6 separate regions of the Homo sapiens genome follow, and all the other regions are linked to region 2. The links are contacts of gene promoters, found by promoter capture Hi-C in blood cells and fetal thymus (Javierre and others, 2016). All regions are on one chromosome and are shown on one strand. Each heading gives the region's core, a stretch centred on a gene start or on the middle of the fragment in contact. The rest is flanking DNA. Distances are from core to core; before and after follow the strand shown.

Region 1 (2,808 bases), core at 214-2,713, 1.4 Mb after region 2:
ACAACAGAGCCAGACTCCGTCTCAAAAAAAAAAAAAGAGGAATAATCTCCAAAATAGTAAACAAATTCCTGCAGACAGGAAATATAATGGTAGATACCTGAGCTAGGAGAGGGGGAATGGGGAACTATTATTCAATGGATACAGTTTCAGTTTAGGAAGATAAACAAGCTCTGGGAATAAACAGTAGTAATGGTTACACAATGTGAAGGTACTTAATGCTACTGAACTCAAAGTTGGTTAAAATGGTACTTGCTATGTGAGGTATATTTTACCACTTAAAAAACTATAGGTGATTGTGCTTCTAAAAGAGTTATCAGTTTAATCTTCAATAGAAATCAATGGACTTTGTTCATTTTTAACAAAGTCAAAATATGCATACGAAAAGGTTATGGGGTAAAGGCAGAGGTAATTATTTTTTTCCCCGAAAGGTATTTTCTACAATGAATGTTTTTATGTAATAAAAAATGAAATGACAAAAGTTTAGAATGTTTGTGGGTTTTGTTCCTTAAATCCTTAATTACATAAATTAATATCTACATTATACAGATTAAGATACATATTTTTCCTCTATCTACAACATTTCTCCATTCTCTGTATCTTAAATCCTGACATTAAATGTCATTAAATTTCTTAAATCTCAAGAGAACGACTTGGTTACCAAGGAAGATATAATCCATAGCCTAGAGAGTGGGCGAATAAAAGCAGCTTCTAATGTTCTCAACTGCTTTTCTCCTGTCAACCAAATGTTTCTGTAAATAACTCATTTCTGTTGGTTTTGGGTAAGACGTGGGAGAAGGAAGAATCCCTGAATGGAGGAGTCTGGAAAGGATGCTTGACAAAACGCCCGCGCTCTCTGGAGACGCAGCCAGTCTCCTCCCTCCTAGGGTCTGGTCTTGACGATAGCATCTCGTGTTTTGGGGATGCCTTTCCTTACCAGATTCTTCTAAAGCCCAGCTGCACCCACCCTTAAGTGGGAGATAAGGCTTCTGCCCGCGGGCTCTGCGTTCGTCCACCCGGCCCCACGTTTGCTGTGGACTAAACAGGAGCCACTGGACTAGAGTACACTTGACTCTCGGCTCTGCGGACCAAAAATTCCAGGACTAAGGAATAGCAAGGTTAGGCTGAAACAGTCCACACAGGGCTTGCGGTAAACGTCTTTTCAGGAGCCACTCGCCCAGTGCAGTAAGTCGTGTACTTAGTTGACTCGAGCGCTCCAGGGAGACGCCCGACCCTACTCTGCGCCGCCCCGGGGCACCAGCTCTGCTTCCTCCAGGTCCACTGAGGCAGGCACGCCCAGCTCTGGGACAGTCAGTAAACAAGCCACGAACCGCGCCAGGGATCAGAGCACCCAGAGTCCCCGCCCAGCTGCCGGCACAGCCAATCGCAGCGCAGCCAGGCGGCGGGGCGGTGCCGGCCGAACCCAGACCCGAGGTTTTAGAAGCAGAGTCAGGCGAAGCTGGGCCAGAACCGCGACCTCCGCAACCTTGAGCGGCATCCGTGGAGTGCGCCTGCGCAGCTACGACCGCAGCAGGAAAGCGCCGCCGGCCAGGCCCAGCTGTGGCCGGACAGGGACTGGAAGAGAGGACGCGGTCGAGTAGGTGTGCACCAGCCCTGGCAACGAGAGCGTCTACCCCGAACTCTGCTGGCCTTGAGGTGGGGAAGCCGGGGAGGGCAGTTGAGGACCCCGCGGAGGCGCGTGACTGGTTGAGCGGGCAGGCCAGCCTCCGAGCCGGGTGGACACAGGTACCGCAGCCAGGCCGCGCCGCGCCGACTCAGGGCCTGGCCCGGCCAGACAGGGAAGCTCAGTCCCCGCACGCCAGACAGCGGTACTCCTGCTGGCGTCACCGCAAACATCCTCTGACCGCTACAGCCAGTGTGTGGCGCAGGCGTCATGTCCCCGGCCCTGCCACGCCTGGAGCCCTGGAAGCTGGCTGCAGGGCGCTGGCTTCCCGCGTGCGGCCATATGACCCCGTCCCTGATTTAGGGGAGCAGTTTGGGGTGTCGGCAGCACAGGCCCAAGTGAATGAAGGAGGGAGCAGTGCGTGCTCTCCTTCCCAGTTTTTCCTGGGAAAGCATTTCAGAAAGGTTTCATTTAAGGAGAGGTTGGGGCGGCGCGGTGGCTCACTCCTGTAATCCCAGCACTTTGGGAGGCTGAGGTGGGCGGATCACCTGAGGTCAGTAGTTCGAGACCAGCCTGGCCAACATGGTGAAACCCCGTCTCTACTGAAAATACAAAATTAGACGGGCGAGGCGGCGCACGCCTGTAGTTCCAGCTATTCAAGAGGCTGAGGAAGAATGGCTTGAACCCGGGAGGCAGAGGTTGCTGTGAGCCGATATCGCGCCGTTGAACTCCAGCCTGGGCCACAGAGCAAGACTCCATCTCAAAAAATAAATAAATAAATAAATAAATAAATAAATAAATAAATAGGAGAGATTGGAAAACTTATCTCAGCTTTTGGTGTTTGTTAGTCAGGAAGATGTGTGAAGGCCTCCTAACTCTTGGGGATCTCTTTGTCCCTACTTGGGAATCCCACCTTATCATTAGTGAGGTTTTGCCTGGGCACGAAACCTGGATTTTTTGCGATTGGTACAAAACCTGGATCAACCGTTTCCCGGTTTCCTAGTTGTTGCCTTAAGCTTCTCACACACAAGGTAGTTTCATACCGTTCTCATAACCTAAATTGTCATCGCATAAACTGTTTCAGCTCCTACAGCTCTGGACAGGCTGCTTTTCATTTTGGTGAGTCCATCCAGTACCTCCACGTGCCCTGTTTTTCTCCAGGCACATCCTTGGCCTCTTCCACAGTC
Region 2 (3,055 bases), core at 168-2,667:
TGGTCCTTTTCTGGGGGTATTCCCATAGTTCCCTGGTGTTATCTTCTTTTTTTGAAGGCCCTTTTCCATTTTACTGCCATGGCCTTTAGCATGGTCATCTATTATTAAATAATCTTGTTGGGGGTGACCCCTTCTGAAGTCATCATCATCCATAGTCCCCCGGTCTTTAGTGCGCTTCACGAAATAAGGTTTTGCTGTATCTCCCATGGTCTTTGACTTCAATTTTCTTACTTTGCACCTGAAAGAAGGTATTTTGGGGAAATATCAAACTATATAACAAGATATCATACAAGTATACAAAATAACAATTTATCGTACAGATGCCCCAAAGCCTGTAAGAAAGAAACTCCCTATTTTTTTAAAATAAAAATTCTATCACATTCTTAATAATCAGTGCTTTACCCTAGAGGTTGGGAGGCTTGGTCCTCTAATATTCTTCATGAAAATTAATACTTACTATTTAGCATGAAGATTAAATGTGTGAATAAGAGAAGCTCTATAGGTTCCAGAACTGTAGCATAGTAGAATATTACTCATATCAAGTATGGTCGGCTTTTCCCTCTGTAACAAGGCGTTTCTCTTCAAAGAAAACCTCATCCCAAGCCAATATTATTACTAAACTACCGAAACAGTCTTTTGTTTTTTAAGTTGGCAATTACTTGTAAGTGTTATACACCGAAACTTTACGTGAAAGGAGTACTACATTTCTCAACTCCAATTTTCCGTCCCTTCACCACCCCTATTCTGGACAGACCGGCTTTGAGCGCTTAGGTTACGGAGGGGCTGGGCTTCCGACCAAGGTGCAGCTGTAATTAAAGAGGCTGGGTTTCCGATCAAGGGACAACTCCATCTAACCTCCTCAATCCCCGTTCTCCAACCCCAAACAAGTTTGGTTTTGTCAGGAACAGCAATTCCCTGAGGAATGACACTCCTCTTCAATCCCCATCTGACCGCTCCACCACCGATCTGCCTTAGTTTCCACCCTTTTGAGCCCGACGTGGAGAAAGAGGAGGCGTCCCTGCACTCCTGGCCAAGAAGCCACCGTGGGGACCAGGAAGCAGGAAGTGACCTGCTGTCTCCATGGGGTTCCAGGGTTCCCCCGGCCGGCCAGGGGGCCAGAGCCGAATGTCTTGACCCAAATCCCGTCTTCTGCGCCCGCAGTCTGACAAAAAGTGAAAACACGGACTCGAACCCGAGGGCTCAGCCTCTGCCGGCCTGGGGGTTCCTCGGTCACCCAAACTGGTGCGAGGAGGCCGGCGGGGGATGGAACCAACGTACCTCCGGGGCCAGGCCGGACAGCTACTCTGGAGTCCAGGAAACCAACTGGAGAATCAGCCCGGAGGCGAGTCTGGCAGGGACGTTGGGAGAAGGCGCCCAAGAGCACTCACCACCTTCGCCGCGGTCCCCAGCCTCTTCCTGTCCCGGCCGGGCTCCCTCTCCGTGTTTTCCTTCGGCCCCACTTCCGGCGCTCAGCGCTGTCTCATTGTGCGCGATTGGGAGCCGACTGTGCCCCCGCCCTAGCGCTCCGCCGCGCACACCGGAAACGAGCGACGCGCCCCGCCCCGCGGTGCCCCGCCCACGCTCCGACCCCGCCTCCCGCGCCTTTGCCAGCCTGGCCTCTCCTGTCCGGCGCCCCAGCGCACTCGCTCCAGGTGTCGGGCGCCGGGTCTGGCCACCGGGCGCAACCGTCGGAGCGGGCTAATTACTGGCTCGCCGGATAGCCGGTTCGCCGGCGCTTGGGGGCCAGGCCCGAACTTCTTACCAGAGCGGCGCCCGCCCCTTTTCTCTCCCGGCTTCGACGCTCCTCTGGTTCCCCTCTCTGCTCGGGAGGCTAAGTGCTCGGGAGAGGCGCGGGAGCCAAGACTTATGCACCCGGAGAGGGACGCGGAGCCAGCGGTCGGGCAAAGCCGCATTCCCCGCGCTTGGGGCCTCGGCTTTGCCCCTGGGTGCTCCCCGGTTACTTCCAGGGGGAGTAAAGGCTCCGAGGCCTCGTAGCGCTCTTGGTGTTTTTCTGATAATTCGTAGTGATTAATGTTTTCGTGAATTCTTAATTGCCGACCTTGTAGAAATGCCAGCATTTAAACATCCACTGCTCACCCAGATCTCAAAGTGGTCAAGGAAAATGCTCTGCTTTTTTCTTAGGTTGTGTAAGGATTACTTTTACTTGGAAAAAAAAAAAATCAGTTCATTTCGAAGAATATGTGTAATGGCAAGGGATGACCAGAGAGCGTTACATTCGAATTTTTGAGTTGAAGAGTGCACACCTCGAACTCGGGGTTGCTTTTTCTTTCTTTACTGTATGACCTTCCTTGCTGTTTACAGTGTTCTAAATGCTTTGAAAAACATCAAGCAACTAGTGAAATTAGGGAGCGTTGGGAAAATCGACAGTTTTCATTTCTCTGCTTTTTTAAAGCATGTAAATTGAAAGCTGTCAGGTCCTGTGGAGCAATGGTCTTAAAATAATAACACACAAAGTTCTGGCTATGCCAATAACTGTTTTGAAGGCTTTACAAATATTAACTCCTTTGTTTTATATTTTTGTAGAGACAGGGGTCTCCTATGTTGCCCAGGCTGCTCTCCAATTCCTGACCTCAAGCCATCCGCCCAACTTGGCCTCCCAAAGTGTTGGGATTACAGGGGTGGTCCACCATACCCAGCCTTAACTTCTTTAATCCTCACAGCTTCATGAAGACTATATCATTATCCCACTTTTAAAGATGAGGACATTTAGCACTTGCAGTGAAGTAAATGGCACTGCTGCAATCCAGACCCTGAATATGAGGCTGTTATTAACCATGTGGCTATACTAAAAGTGATATAAAACACATTCCTACAACTTTTATATAATTCCTTACTTAGATATTTTGATTGTGAAAATACGTGAGGATCAAACTGATAGTCTCTTCAACAGGCAGACAGTGGCCTTGAAAATATAGTCCAAAAGGGAGTGTGGAGATGCATGATTACATTAATTCTGAGACAGCAGCGTCACCACGCCCCACCCAAACCAGTAATTCCTGTGCAAAAGAACTGGTTTAGAAATCTGCCTCCACCT
Region 3 (2,811 bases), core at 87-2,586, 1.1 Mb after region 2:
TAAGCAGGTGGCATGTAATTATCAGGGCACTGTAGAGAAACAGAAGCAGCAGCAGATAAGAAAAGTTTTATTTATTTTAAGGAATTGGCTCATGCAATTGTGGAGGCTGCTGTGTTTGTAATTTACAGGGCAGGCCGGCAGGCTGGAAACTCAGGGAGGGGTTGACACCGCAGTCCTGAGGCAGAATTTCTTCTTTTCCTAGAAACTCCAGTTTTTGCTCTTAGGACTTTCAACAGACTAGATGAGGCTCACTCATGTCATCCAGGAAAATCTCCTTTACTTAAAGTCAACTTATTAGGCCGGGCACGGTGGCTCATGCCTGTAATCCCAGCTCTTTGGAAGGCCGAGGCGGGTGGATCACGAGGTCAAGAGATCGAGACCATCCTGGCTAACACGGTGAAACCCCGTCTCCACTAAAAATACAAAAAATTCTCTGGGTGTGGTGGCGGGCGCCTGTAGTCCCAGCTACTCGGGAGGCTGAGGCAGGAGAATGGCGTGAGCCCGGGAGGCAGAGCAATGCAGCGAGCCGAGATTGTGCCACTGTACTCCAGCCTGGGTGACAGAGTGAGACTCCGACTCAAAAAAAAAAAAAATCAACTTATTGTAGGTGTTCACCTCATCTACAAGCTACCTTCATGGCAACACCTAGATAAGTGTTTGAGTAACTGGATACTGTGGCCCAGCAAAGCCGACACATAAAAATAACTACTCCACGGGAACAGTGCTGTCAGAGAGGTGCAAAAAACCACTGCAGGAGTTCAGGAGAATGAAAAGTCAAGGAAACTTAGATGGTTGAAAACAATCCCCATGATAAAAGAGCAAAGAAATAAAGCCTTCTCAATAGAGAAGACCAAAAAGAAATAATACTGATTAACAGTAGCCAAGCACATGTACGCTGTCATATAGTCTTTCTTTCTTTTCTTTTTTTTTTTTTTGAGACAGAGTCTTGCTGTGTTGCCCAGGCTGGAGTACAGTGGCACAGTCTCAGCTCATTGTAACCTCTGCCTCCTGGATTCAAGCGATTCTCCTGCCTCTGCCTCCTGAGTACCTGGGATTACAGGTGCCTGCCACCACACCTGGCTGATTTTTGTATTTTCAGTAGAGATGGGGTTTCACCATGTTGGCCAGGCTGGTCTCAAACTCCTGACTTCAGGTGATCCACCTGCCTCGGCCTCCCAAAATGCTGGGATTACAGGTGTGAGCCACCGTGCCCGGCCTATTATTTATTTTTAATCATCTCAACTACCCTAATGGGGCAGGAACTATCATTCTCCCCACTTTATAGATAAAGACAACTGACCCCAGTGTTTCCAATGTCACACAACTGTGATAGAAATGGAACTCAAATTCAGGCAGTGTGAAATCTCCAGATGGCCCTACTCATACTTCCCTAATGAACGCATACATGACCTCATTAATTCTAATAAAGGCCCCATGAGATAGGTATCATTATCCCCTCTTACTCATTTGTAAGGTGACAGCACTGGGATTTGAACCTGGCTTATCTGACTCTAAACTTATGCTCTGTCCACCCCAGCATGTGGCATGCCTCCGGCCTTGCTCCAAACATACCAAGGAGAATGTGTCAAGGGGTCTAGTTTATGTTCAGATGCAACCTCCGAGTGGAATGCAGCTTAATTTCAAGCAGTAAAAAATGTTGGTAGAATAGTAGAAGTAACTTCTTGGTTGTCCATCAGGGAAATGCACACATCAACTGGAGAAAGAAACGTTTATCCTTGGAGAACTTGACTGCTTTGAACATTAGCCTCCCCAAAGACCAAGATAAGGTTATAATCATTGAATGGGAATGTGTATTGAGACTGTGAATTTTGGTTATTGATTGGCAAGAATAAAAACACAGCACTTTCCACCCACACAGAAAACAACACCAAAGTTGGCTTCTCTTAAATGAAAATATTTCCTTGGCTTTCTCTTAGCTACATATTTTTAGCAAAAATTAAATATACACTGCAAATCATGTCTTCTTTTCTTGGGTAGGGAATAGACTCATTTCAATCTAACTTCAAAGGAGCAACCAGAAGACTTTTCTTTCCCCGACCACTTTGAAATACTCCTACACTATTTTATCCTTTTCTCTCAGTGAGTTATTTTTTTCCTCTCAGAACGTAGAGTATGTGAGAAATCTGTACTGTTCTATTTTTGCTGAGGAATGAATTCTGAGCTCACTTTGAGCTCATAAAATTGTCATCTATTCACTTGTTATCTCTTCTCTAGACCTTCCTGCTAGAGTCAATGCCAGGTCTATCTCCCTTCTATGATCATGATGATAACAGGAAATATAGCATAATCATTTAGCAATTGTTTAAAATTAAATGATGCCCTTTCATTGTCATTATTTTTATCTTAATTATATCTCCACAATATATAACAGTAATCATCCAGTTCCTCATAATTTTATATGATGGGCATGATATTGCAAATCAGATCATAAAAATAAAATCTATATTCATTGTATGCCAGGCTCCAGGCTATACAGACATTTAAAACTCACAAAAACCCTATGAGGTAGATACTAATATCCTCATTTTTCTAAGGAGGAAACTGAGGTATAGGTAATTTCAGTAATTTGCTCATGTTTATACAGGAAGGGAGCCGAAATGTAAAATGAAGCATCCTGCCCGCAAAGACAGTTTGTGGCCATAACAGTGTGTACAACTCCCACTAAATAATTGTGAGGTTTCATTTTCTTGTTTTTCTCTTTCTTCTTGGAAGTTCAAAACTACATTTTATGGAGGCAGAACAAATAAACACAAATATTCCATAGGGAAACACTGTGGATAAATAGGCCTT
Region 4 (2,965 bases), core at 343-2,842, 1.2 Mb after region 2:
AATGCTTCAAGGGAGCCATGTGTATGACTCCAGTAAACACACTGTGTGTGCTCACCTCCCAGGTGCTGGCAGGCTACTAAGCATGCAGACAGCCACCCCATGGGAAGAATCAGGGGAGAAGGGGCACAAGACCCCAGAAGTCTGACAACATGTAAAACCCCAAGTCAAAATGTTAAACCGCGTACTTGATCTCTCAAGTCGCCTCCTGGGCCCTCTTCCAAGTGTACTTTACTTCCTTTCATTTCTGCTCTAGCGCTTTTCAATAAGCTTTCACTCCTGCTCTAAAACTTGCCTCAGTCTCTTCTGCCTTAGGCCCCCTTGGTCGAATTCTTTCTTTTGAGGAGAAAAGAATTGAGGTTGCTGCAGACCCATACAGATTCGCTTCCAGTAACACTAGTACCTAGTAGTTTCTAAGGTATTTCTAACGTGATCTTACTAATTTATCTTTTAAATTAAAAATTAAGGGTATCATTTATTCTGTGACTCTTTGAGGAGATTTGGTGTCTGTTTTATCCTGAGCATCTACAACAGTGCCTGACACATAGTAGATGCTCAGTAAAAAGTTATGGAGTGTATACCACATGCTCTGGGGGATATATGGCACAGTCTTTGGATTATCAGTTTGTGTTTATTTCTTGGCTGCAAAGGTGGAGGGAAGGCCCAGGTTGCACAGGAGGGGACAGAGCTTTAACAGTACGTGGAATGCAGTGGACGTGCCTTTATCTGCAAGGACCCTTGACTGCATTGAGGCTGCCTGGAGCAAAGAAGCCACCAGACCCAAGGGGCTCAGGCTAGGCTGGGAGAATGCCAGGAGGCGAGTCCCTGTCACCTGCCCCTAGAACAGGTCAGACCTGTTCTGTTGTTCTGTGGTCATCTGCTCTAAATTTCCTCCTACTCACCTCTGGGCCTTTAAATTTGGGATTCATAAGAATGCTTGGTGCAGAGGAGGAGCTGATGCCTCCCTAACTTCCCTAATGCCGCCCGCCCAAGCTTCTCAGAACCCCTGCTTCCTCATTAAGATAATGAGAACTTCCTTAGATATCTGTGCAGACGAAATGAGAGAATGTGCCTAAGTCCTCAACGCAGTCCTGTTTTTATTATTTAGGCTTTCCCCCTCTGGGATTTGGAATGGAAAAAGCACAGCCTAATCTTGCCCCTCTCTTTTCCCCAGTGAGAACTTATATGGTTCCCATTATGTTCTATTGTTATTATTCCACTATTTTCCAGAATGTGAGGAATAAGCTGACCCTGAGCCTGCCACTTTGATTTGGTCGTCAGAAGTCCTGGGGAAGCAGTTGAGAGATCTTGTAACTTTTAGTATTAATCTCAAAGACACTGCCTAACCAACACAGGCTGTATTACCAGTTCCTACATCTAGCCCTCTGTAGGGTAGCTTGATTTTAAATGTGCAAGTTAATTTCAAGTCTGTTTTGTAAGGGGAATTTATATTAAGCACATTAACAACCTCAGTGTCTCCAAGGGTCAAATCTTATGTCTACTTTCCTTAACCCGTTTTGAAATTGGAAGAGGAAGTTAATATGCAGTCCCATGCACTCCCTTTTAGATTTAATAATGGATGAAAAGTTCTTTTATCCACTGTACTTCTTCAGAAATTTCAGAATAATTTCTTTCTGTTTGAAGAATATGAAGTTAGTTCTTTAAAAAGAGAGACATGCTATTTAATTTTTAAACCCCACCATCTAGGGAATTCTGACATTATGGGACAGACTGAGCCGATTTCCCTTTGTGACATTGGGGTTTCATGTGCTGGAGCCACATGAGGGATGCACAGAGGGGAGCCTTCTTGTCGCAGGTGGGAACAAACATCCAAAGAAACCCCCAAGGGCCCCTTTGAAGGTCATCCTCACTGGAACAAAGGTAGTCACTGGGGCCAGACCAGTGACCTCTCCATATTCATGCAGGTCTCTTCTTCAAAGATTTTAAGTAACTTCCTTTCCCAGGGGGATGGAGCAGCTGTGAGCCGAGCATTAGCGCCAGGCCTTTTAAAAACAGACCAGTGAATTCAGGAAATGCTTACCCTTTGGATAGTCAAGTGGAAGCATGGATATATTTTAAAGTATCTATCTAATTCCTTCTCTGGAGTGAGAAGGGGTTAGGGGGAGAGATCTAGGTCAAAAATATTATTTAAGGATAAAATGCTCTGATCATTGCATTGTTGCACGCAGTGGGCTCAGCAAGCTTTTCGTTTCCACTGCAGTGTGGGTCATAGCTTGTGCGTGAGTCCCCTCTGACTAGAGGGCTGGTCTATCCATACCCGATGTTCACTGCCAGTAGCTGGCTGGAGTTCATTACTGGTGCCACCAGCCTCAGGCCTGGTCGTTCAAAGAAGAAACAATATTTGAAAATGGACGTGATTTTTCCCTTGGGGCTTTCCTGTGTTTTCTTCATAGAGTATACTTTGTAATTTGGGGAACCAGAATAAATAGAAAGAAGAATAGTTAGGACAGTGAGTCCATCTGAAGCCTTTGTAGGTGGTGAAGGGAGAAGTTGGGGGTAAGAGGGCATTCACTGCACAGCAAAGACTGGCGTGTCTCAGACTGGTGCAAACCTGTGCTGCAATATTGACCTGAGGATGAGTAGAAAAAGGCAGAGGAGCTGTCACTTCAGTGTAATGTTGAGAAAAAACAGTCCTCTCCCCAGTGTAGGGCATTGAACTGTCACAACCAGAATTATGCCCAGGATTTCATACAGGTGCTGTCTATTGTACATAGCTTAAAAAGCTGGTTGCCTGAAAGTTCAATTATTGTGTCTTATTGTTTCCTGTGAACATAAAGGAATGTCCACAGAATATTAGAGAATATTGGAATGCAGGAAGAGAGGCAAGTCTGAGAGGTGGGGATGAGTTCAGAGAAATCCCCAGGGGCCTCCTTATTGTGCAGTAGTTTTCCCTCCATGTGCCCCCTGGGCTGATATTAATGTGTTCTAGGAAATGCTTAATGCTTAT
Region 5 (3,088 bases), core at 501-3,000, 1.3 Mb after region 2:
AGACTGCCTCAAAGGGTTAGTGATTCTATGGGAAGGGCAAGATGCACACTTAGCATTATAAAATGATTTTTTTAAAAAATATACAGTTTAAAACAGTGGCTCTTAAACTTTAGCATGCATCAGAATTGCCTGAAGGGCTTGTTTGACTATTTGACAGGCTTCCAGAGTTTTGTATTCAGTGGGTTTGGGGTGGGACCTAGGCGTTTGCATTTTTATTTAATTTTATTTTTCCTAGAGACGGGGTGTCCCTATGTTACCCAGGCTGGCCTCAAGCTCCTGCACTCAAGCGCTTCTCCTGCGTCAGCCTCCTGAGTAGGTGGGACTGGGGTGTAAGCCACTGGGCCCAGCTCAGAATTGACTTTTTGGTTTTTTTCTTGAGACAGGGTCTCATTCTGTCACCCAGGCTGGAATGCAGTGGTGCAATCATAGCTCACTGCAGCCTTGAACTCCCGGGCTCGAGTGATTCTCCCACTTCTGCCTCCTGAGTAGCTGGGATTACAGGTGTGTGGCACCACACTCAGCTATTTTTTATTTTTTGTAGCTTCAGTGTCATTTTGTTGCTCAGGCTGGTCTCGACCTCCTGGGCTTATGCAGCCCTCTCACCCTGTCCTCCCAAGTTGCTGGAATTACAGTTGTGAGCCACAACGCCCAGCCAGAATTTCAATTTTTCCTTTTTTCCTAACCTTGAAAGCCAGAATTTCCATTTTTAACAGATTCCCGGGTGATGCGGATGCTGCTGGTCTGGGTTCATCTTTTGAGAGGCTGTGCTCCCCAAAAAGGATATGTTGAAGTGCTATGTCCCTGTCTTAGTTCATTTTGGGTTTTGCAATAACAAGACCACAGACTGGGTAATTTATAGAGAAAATAAGTTTATGTCTTACAGTGCTGGAGGCAGGAAGTACATTTTGCTGCATGTGATGTGAGTCTTCTTACTGTCATAACATGGCAAAAGGCATCGCGTGGCAAGAGAGGGCAAGAGCCCACTCCCAGGAGCCCTTTTTTAAAGGTACTAAACTGACCCATGAAGGTGGAGGAGCCCTTATGGCCTAAATTTCTTCTTAAAGTCCCTACCTCTCAACACTCTTACAATGGCAATTAAATCTCAACTTGAGTTTTGGAGAGGACAAACATTCAAACCGTAGCACCATAGTATCTCAGAACATGACCTTTTTGGATATGAGATTGTTTTAGATGTAATTAGTTAAGATGAGGTCATACTGGAATAGCACAGAGAACCTAATCTGATAGGACTGGTGTCCTTATAAGAAGGCCCTGTGGAGACAGAGGAATGGAGTGAAGCATCTATACGCCAAGGAACCTGCCAGAAACTAGGACAGAGGCATGGAGCAGATTCATCCTCAGATCCCTTAGAAGGACCATCCCTACCAACGTACTGAGTTAGGACTGCCAGCCCCCAAAACTATGTGATAGCAGGTTGTTGTTTTAAACCACCCCATGTGTGGTCCTTTGTTAGGGCAGGCCTAGGAAACTAACACAGAGGCACCAGTTAACAGAAACTAGATTTCCTGGACTGGGAGCCTACTCGCATGTTGATCTAAAATTCTATAAGCAAGTTAGAAACAAAACAAAACATAATGCCTAATTATGGTAATGCCATCAGGTAACTGCAAAATGACGCAATACATACATCTCACTCCCTGCAGATAGCCTGAGCAGAGAAGGATTGGAGCGGGGGTGGGGGTTTGGAGTCTAACATAAGATAAGGAAGAAATGGACATCACCAGGTTCTGGCCTGCTTCAGGATGGTCACCTGAGTAGCTCTGGATCACATGTCTGAAAGGTTACCATGTTAAGAATTATAAAGTAAAAGTGCTAAGATGGCCAAGTAAGTATTGGCATGGTGGATTGTTCCAGAGAAATCAAGCCAGTTTGGTTCTCCAATCCTAAATGTCTCCCCTTATTTGTTCTGCTTCCATTTCGAAGCACATCTTTAAAACAGAGTAACCCCATTTAGCTTTCTCTCTCTTTCTTTGTGACAGGAAATTCCATTTAATTAGTGCAGTCTGCTATGGTTGTAGCCAAGTGCAGGGCGTGGAGTGAATAATGCATTTTTTATATTTAAAAAGGTAAATTTTGCTGATTTTTTTAATCATGGTAAAACAACATACAGTTTACCATCTTAACCATTTTTAAGTGCACAGTACAGCAGTGTTAATTCTATGCATATTGTTGTGCAACAGATTTCTAGAACCTTTTCGTCTTGCAAAACTGAAATGCTGTGCCTATTGAACAACTCCTTTTTAGCTCTGTGTTTTACTTTGGCTAAGTTAATAATTTCTGGAATTCAGTTTGCCCATCACAAACAACTGCTAAGTTGTATTCAAACATTTGTGCAATATTAGGTCACTTTATGTAGGATCACGGTTCAGTTGGCTCACTCTCTCATAACCAAACTGAGATGCAAAATAATCAGAATACAAATACAACTTTGTTTTTCATTGTATGTCAGCGTGGTGCATGTATGTAGACGAACACATGGTGCCTTGGTCAGCAAGATCAGAATCGCAAGAGCCTTTGAAGAAACACATGCAGTGATTAAAGTGATAGTTTCAAAGGATCTTAAAAGTGGCAAAAATTGTACAGAGCTGAATGTGGTGGTCGGGACTTAGGGAAGCTGATAAATGGGGTGTGTGGCACAGAGCCCTTCAGTCTCCCTGTCTCTGCTTCTCTCTGGGCGCTCACGAACCACAATAGCACACACTCAGACTTCCTCAATGCGTTCTTTTGCTGCCACATTTGTTCTCTCTTTTCTGAGCTCGAGCCAGCTCTTTTGACTTTTTGAACTTTTGTCTTTATTCACAAAGGTAATTTCAAGAGCTCTTGTGGGTTCCACTTCTGGCATCCCGCTCCTCAGATACCTACTATTAGGCAAGAGCAGAGAAGTAAAGTGCATTTGGCAGCAGTCTCTGCCTTTCAAAGCAGAGCTAAATCATGTAAAATAGGTTATTTTCCATCCAGGCATTCTCTTGAGAAAGAAAACCCTGTGTGTGTCTTCCCCCATACTCTCACTTCTTGCCAGTTCAGTTGAAAAGTGTTCCCTTAATGTTATTAAATAGGTATTTTCACT
Region 6 (3,235 bases), core at 82-2,581, 1.2 Mb after region 2:
GAATTCAAGAACCTATAGCCTCTTGGTTTCCACTGGCACGCTTGCCATGGTAGGAGCCCTTGTTAGGATTAAGCTTTTCTCAGTGCTGGAGATGGAGTTGTTGCACTCATAGGGCTACCACCTGGATTCCTCAGATTGCCTCCGAATGAGTCTGTGAGCCCCACCCCACCGGACCTCCCTCCATGGCGTCCCTCCCAAGCATGACTCAAGGGTTCTGAGTTGCTGTGTTGAATGGATTGGCTAGCGATCGTTTCCATGGGCATACTGCTCCATCATTTCCAAATGCTTTCGTGTTCACTTTCAGTTTCTTTTAATATTTATAGACACCCCAAAAAGGCTGCCACTATTCAGTTGAAATGGTAATGCTAAGGAAACTAAGGCTCCAAGAAGACGGTCCAAGGTCTCATGGCTAAATGAGTAGAAGACCAAAACTGTGATTACAAAGCTGTCACCAGCTCTGCCCCTTTAGGGTGAGTTACTGATGAAAGAAGAGTTGGCTCTGCAGACAGCAGTGAGGAGGAGTGAAGCCACCCAGGCATAAGGCACCGGGGAGCTGCGGGCCTGTGTCCAGCTGGAGCGCACGGGGCCATCTGAAGGGGCAGTCGCTATGCATTGGGCGCTGACTGCCTGCAGGCCGTGGGCCAACGCTGCCAGCTCTTCCAAGTCTTCATGCATTGCTGGGAATCAGAGTTTTAAAATATTGACAGTGGATTCAGTTCTTTTCAAAACACTGTGCCCATTGCTCTGGATCAAACAGACACCATCCCACACAACACTCCAGTTGTGATCAGTGGATTAAAGCAACACTCCTTGGTGAATAGGCTTCTTTTGATGGTACTTGCATTTGAAAAGAGTTTTGTTGAAGCAATTTAGCTTCTAATTAATGCATTCTGTGGGGGAGATGTTTTTTCATGGAGTCATCTTCTTGTGCCTGCTCTGGGTCCCCCAGCTTCAAGGAATGTTGGCTAAAGAGAGTGGGAAGGTGGGATGCAGTGTGGGTGGCGTCACCTTGCAGCCTGACCGTGCCTCCTCCGTCCTCTCTGCACAAGGTGACAACCCACTAGGATATGGAAGGGGAAGGCTGTCACATGTACCTTGTGTGATGCACCCAAGTTATTACAAATCATTTTCTAAAAATCCTTGCAGAGTGGGTAATGGGTCTCTGAGCCATATAGTGTTGGGGCTGTTGCAAAACTGGTCCACTTCCAAATTGCAGGCCTTGATCATTTACTCCCTGGGTGGGAAAGGGGAGCTCTCCACAGTAAAGAACTCATTTCTTGTCCTCAGATGTGTGGTGGTCTGATGTGATGAGCAGACTTTATACTGAGAAAGGAATTTTAGAGGAATACAGAATCCAGCTAACTTAGTAGGAGTGATTAAAAAATACTGGAGGTGTGGGGCGAGGCAGATTCTCTTGATAGAGGAAATTCTCCAGGTCACGTGTGTTTTTTTAATAAGTAGCATCCCTTTGCATTAACCTCAGTGGTTCTCAGCCTTGGCTGGTTGGGGAATCCCTCTGAACTTTAAACACTGCCTGTACTTGGGCTCAGCCTCAGAGATTAGGACTTAATTGGTGTGGAGTCTGGTGAGGGCATCTGGACTTTCAACAGCTCCCCTCCCCCACTGACGATGGTTGAGAATTACTACTCCAGTCTGTGAGTTTTAGAGTTCACTGTGCATCAGAAGCACCCAGGAGCTCTTTAAAATGCAGGTTGCTGGGCTTTGCCCCATGGACTGAATCCAGAGTTCACGGGGGAGCCCAGGAACCTGTATTTTTCAAAGCTCTACCTCCAGCGAGACTCAGGTGATCATTGACTTATGTGCTTCATCGCAGGTGCCCATATAGAAATACGCAGATAGGTTATTTCAATTTGCAATTAATACATATAAATACTTTAGTGTCCTACTTTTGACAAGCAGTTGGATGGAAAATCGATCTTTTGAAATGGATGTCAGTTTAGGCTCAAAACGTGTGATTACCTAAGTTCTCACTGCTGGAGAATTCAAGCTGATAGGCCATGTTTTTCAAAGGAAGTGGGTGCAGAACTGGATCCTGTCAGTGTCAATGCGGGTGCATCCGGGTGTGTAGCAGTGCCTTTTGGTTAAACCCAGGCTTTCCCTACGAGAGGTCTTCCAGTCCATTAATCTTGTGTTAAGTTTCTTGGCTGGAAGGGTGGTTTATAGAAGTGGTGCCAAACAGCTGTAAATGCAAGGCTGAGAACTATTTGTCCTCTTCCTTTATTTTTAAGACTTCAGAAAACAACTTTCACTAAATTGGTAAATAAAGTTTTAGGTATTATTTTCTGATTAATGAAATCACCATAAACTACTACTTCTAGACTTCCGAATGTCATGATTTTATTTCTGGTCTTATTATATTTGTGTTTCTGAGTCTTAATGAGCTAGAAATGCTTATAAGACAAAAGCAATGTGTGTTTTTTCCTGCATCAGATTCTTTTACACCTTATCTTGAAGTTTGCATAACTGAGTCACTTTCTATTTTTTTTTAATCACTTTGATAAGAGAAAAATTTATGTTAGTTGCAGTCCAGGAAAAAGAAGGCACAAACACTGCTGATCAAATATTACTAAAGCTTTTATGGACTCTTGAACCTCATTTTCCCTCCCATATGTACACAAGACACACTTCATTCTTACTCTGTTTATGCCTCTCTGTCTAATAGAAACTTCACTTCTGACTCCAGCTTTGTCTAATTATTAACACAGAGAGGTACTAGAAGTTGTCCATTAGCAAAGAAGAGAAAAATTATGTTTAGGGAACTAATTTTATAACAGCTTAAAATGGCTTTGATGTAAATCTGCCAGATGCCTCTTTTTATATCATCAAATACTTTGCTTTACCTTGAAGAATATTACCCCCAGGTTGGGACAGGAGCTTTCCCATTCTTTTCATTATTTTGTATGTAAAAAAAACCCAAAAAGCCAGTTGTACCTCTCGTAAATAATACATGTTTTCCTCTGCAGAACTGTAGTCTATGTGACACCTACAAACAAGGGACTGCTTGAGGAGTGAAAACCTGGCTTAACCCAGGCGTGCACTTCTTAGGGAATTCTTTATAGGAAGGAGTCATCATTCATAGCAGTGATTTAGAAGATTTCATTCCAAAGATTGAATTGCCTGTTCAGCTGTTCAAAATGCCTGATTCCCCAGATTTCAGGAACAGCAGAGAGGGGAGAGAAACCATTTGCAAACACATAGGGTGTCGAGTAAGAGT

What was found. The method cuts DNA at HindIII sites, captures the fragments that hold promoters and counts their contacts. A CHiCAGO score of 5 or more calls a contact.
Region 1: the fragment with the promoter of CTSL here is called in contact with the fragment with the promoter of TUT7 in region 2 in 1 of 17 cell types (monocytes); the score reaches 6.5 in monocytes.
Region 3: a fragment that was not itself captured here is called in contact with the fragment with the promoter of TUT7 in region 2 in 1 of 17 cell types (M1 macrophages); the score reaches 5.5 in M1 macrophages.
Region 4: a contact is called between a fragment that was not itself captured here and the fragment with the promoter of TUT7 in region 2, in 3 of 17 cell types (M2 macrophages, M0 macrophages and M1 macrophages). The highest score is 12.5, in M2 macrophages.
Region 5: a contact is called between a fragment that was not itself captured here and the fragment with the promoter of TUT7 in region 2, in 4 of 17 cell types (monocytes, M1 macrophages, M0 macrophages and 1 more). The highest score is 8.6, in monocytes.
Region 6: a contact is called between a fragment that was not itself captured here and the fragment with the promoter of TUT7 in region 2, in 1 of 17 cell types (M0 macrophages). The highest score is 6.8, in M0 macrophages.

What each region holds. Positions count from the first base shown.
Region 1 is chr9:87,724,656-87,727,463 of GRCh38, forward strand. It overlaps CTSL (cathepsin L), which reads left to right and starts at 1,464. Exons shown (of 8, transcript NM_001912.5): 1 at 1,464-1,743. RefSeq lists promoters at 1-1,537, 1-1,509, 1-1,537, 4-1,436, 206-1,537 and 7 more, cis regulatory regions at 453-455, 521-523, 680-867, 865-872, 944-1,094 and 11 more and an enhancer at 1,255-1,776. The HindIII fragment of the contact is 5,945 bases long and covers 1-2,635 here.
Region 2 is chr9:86,352,993-86,356,047 of GRCh38, forward strand. TUT7 (terminal uridylyl transferase 7) reads right to left here and starts at 1,418. Exons shown (of 27, transcript NM_024617.4): 1 at 1,279-1,418; 2 at 1-238. The coding sequence starts at 207. RefSeq lists an enhancer at 1,267-1,476 and a silencer at 1,497-1,676. The HindIII fragment of the contact is 6,298 bases long and covers 1-3,055 here.
Region 3 is chr9:87,473,552-87,476,362 of GRCh38, forward strand. No RefSeq gene overlaps it. Among named protein-coding and RNA genes, the nearest start is that of DAPK1, 23 kb to the right of the region's middle. The HindIII fragment of the contact is 6,160 bases long and covers 1-2,811 here.
Region 4 is chr9:87,528,982-87,531,946 of GRCh38, forward strand. The region is part of intron 2 of DAPK1 (death associated protein kinase 1); the gene reads left to right. Among named protein-coding and RNA genes, the nearest start is that of DAPK1-IT1, 23 kb to the right of the region's middle. RefSeq lists an enhancer at 1,334-2,316. The HindIII fragment of the contact is 1,209 bases long and covers 989-2,197 here.
Region 5 is chr9:87,611,101-87,614,188 of GRCh38, forward strand. All of the region lies in intron 3 of DAPK1 (death associated protein kinase 1), which reads left to right. Among named protein-coding and RNA genes, the nearest start is that of DAPK1-IT1, 59 kb to the left of the region's middle. The HindIII fragment of the contact is 6,433 bases long and covers 1-3,088 here.
Region 6 is chr9:87,567,604-87,570,838 of GRCh38, forward strand. All of the region lies in intron 2 of DAPK1 (death associated protein kinase 1), which reads left to right. Among named protein-coding and RNA genes, the nearest start is that of DAPK1-IT1, 16 kb to the left of the region's middle. RefSeq lists enhancers at 585-754, 2,536-2,705. The HindIII fragment of the contact is 2,520 bases long and covers 72-2,591 here.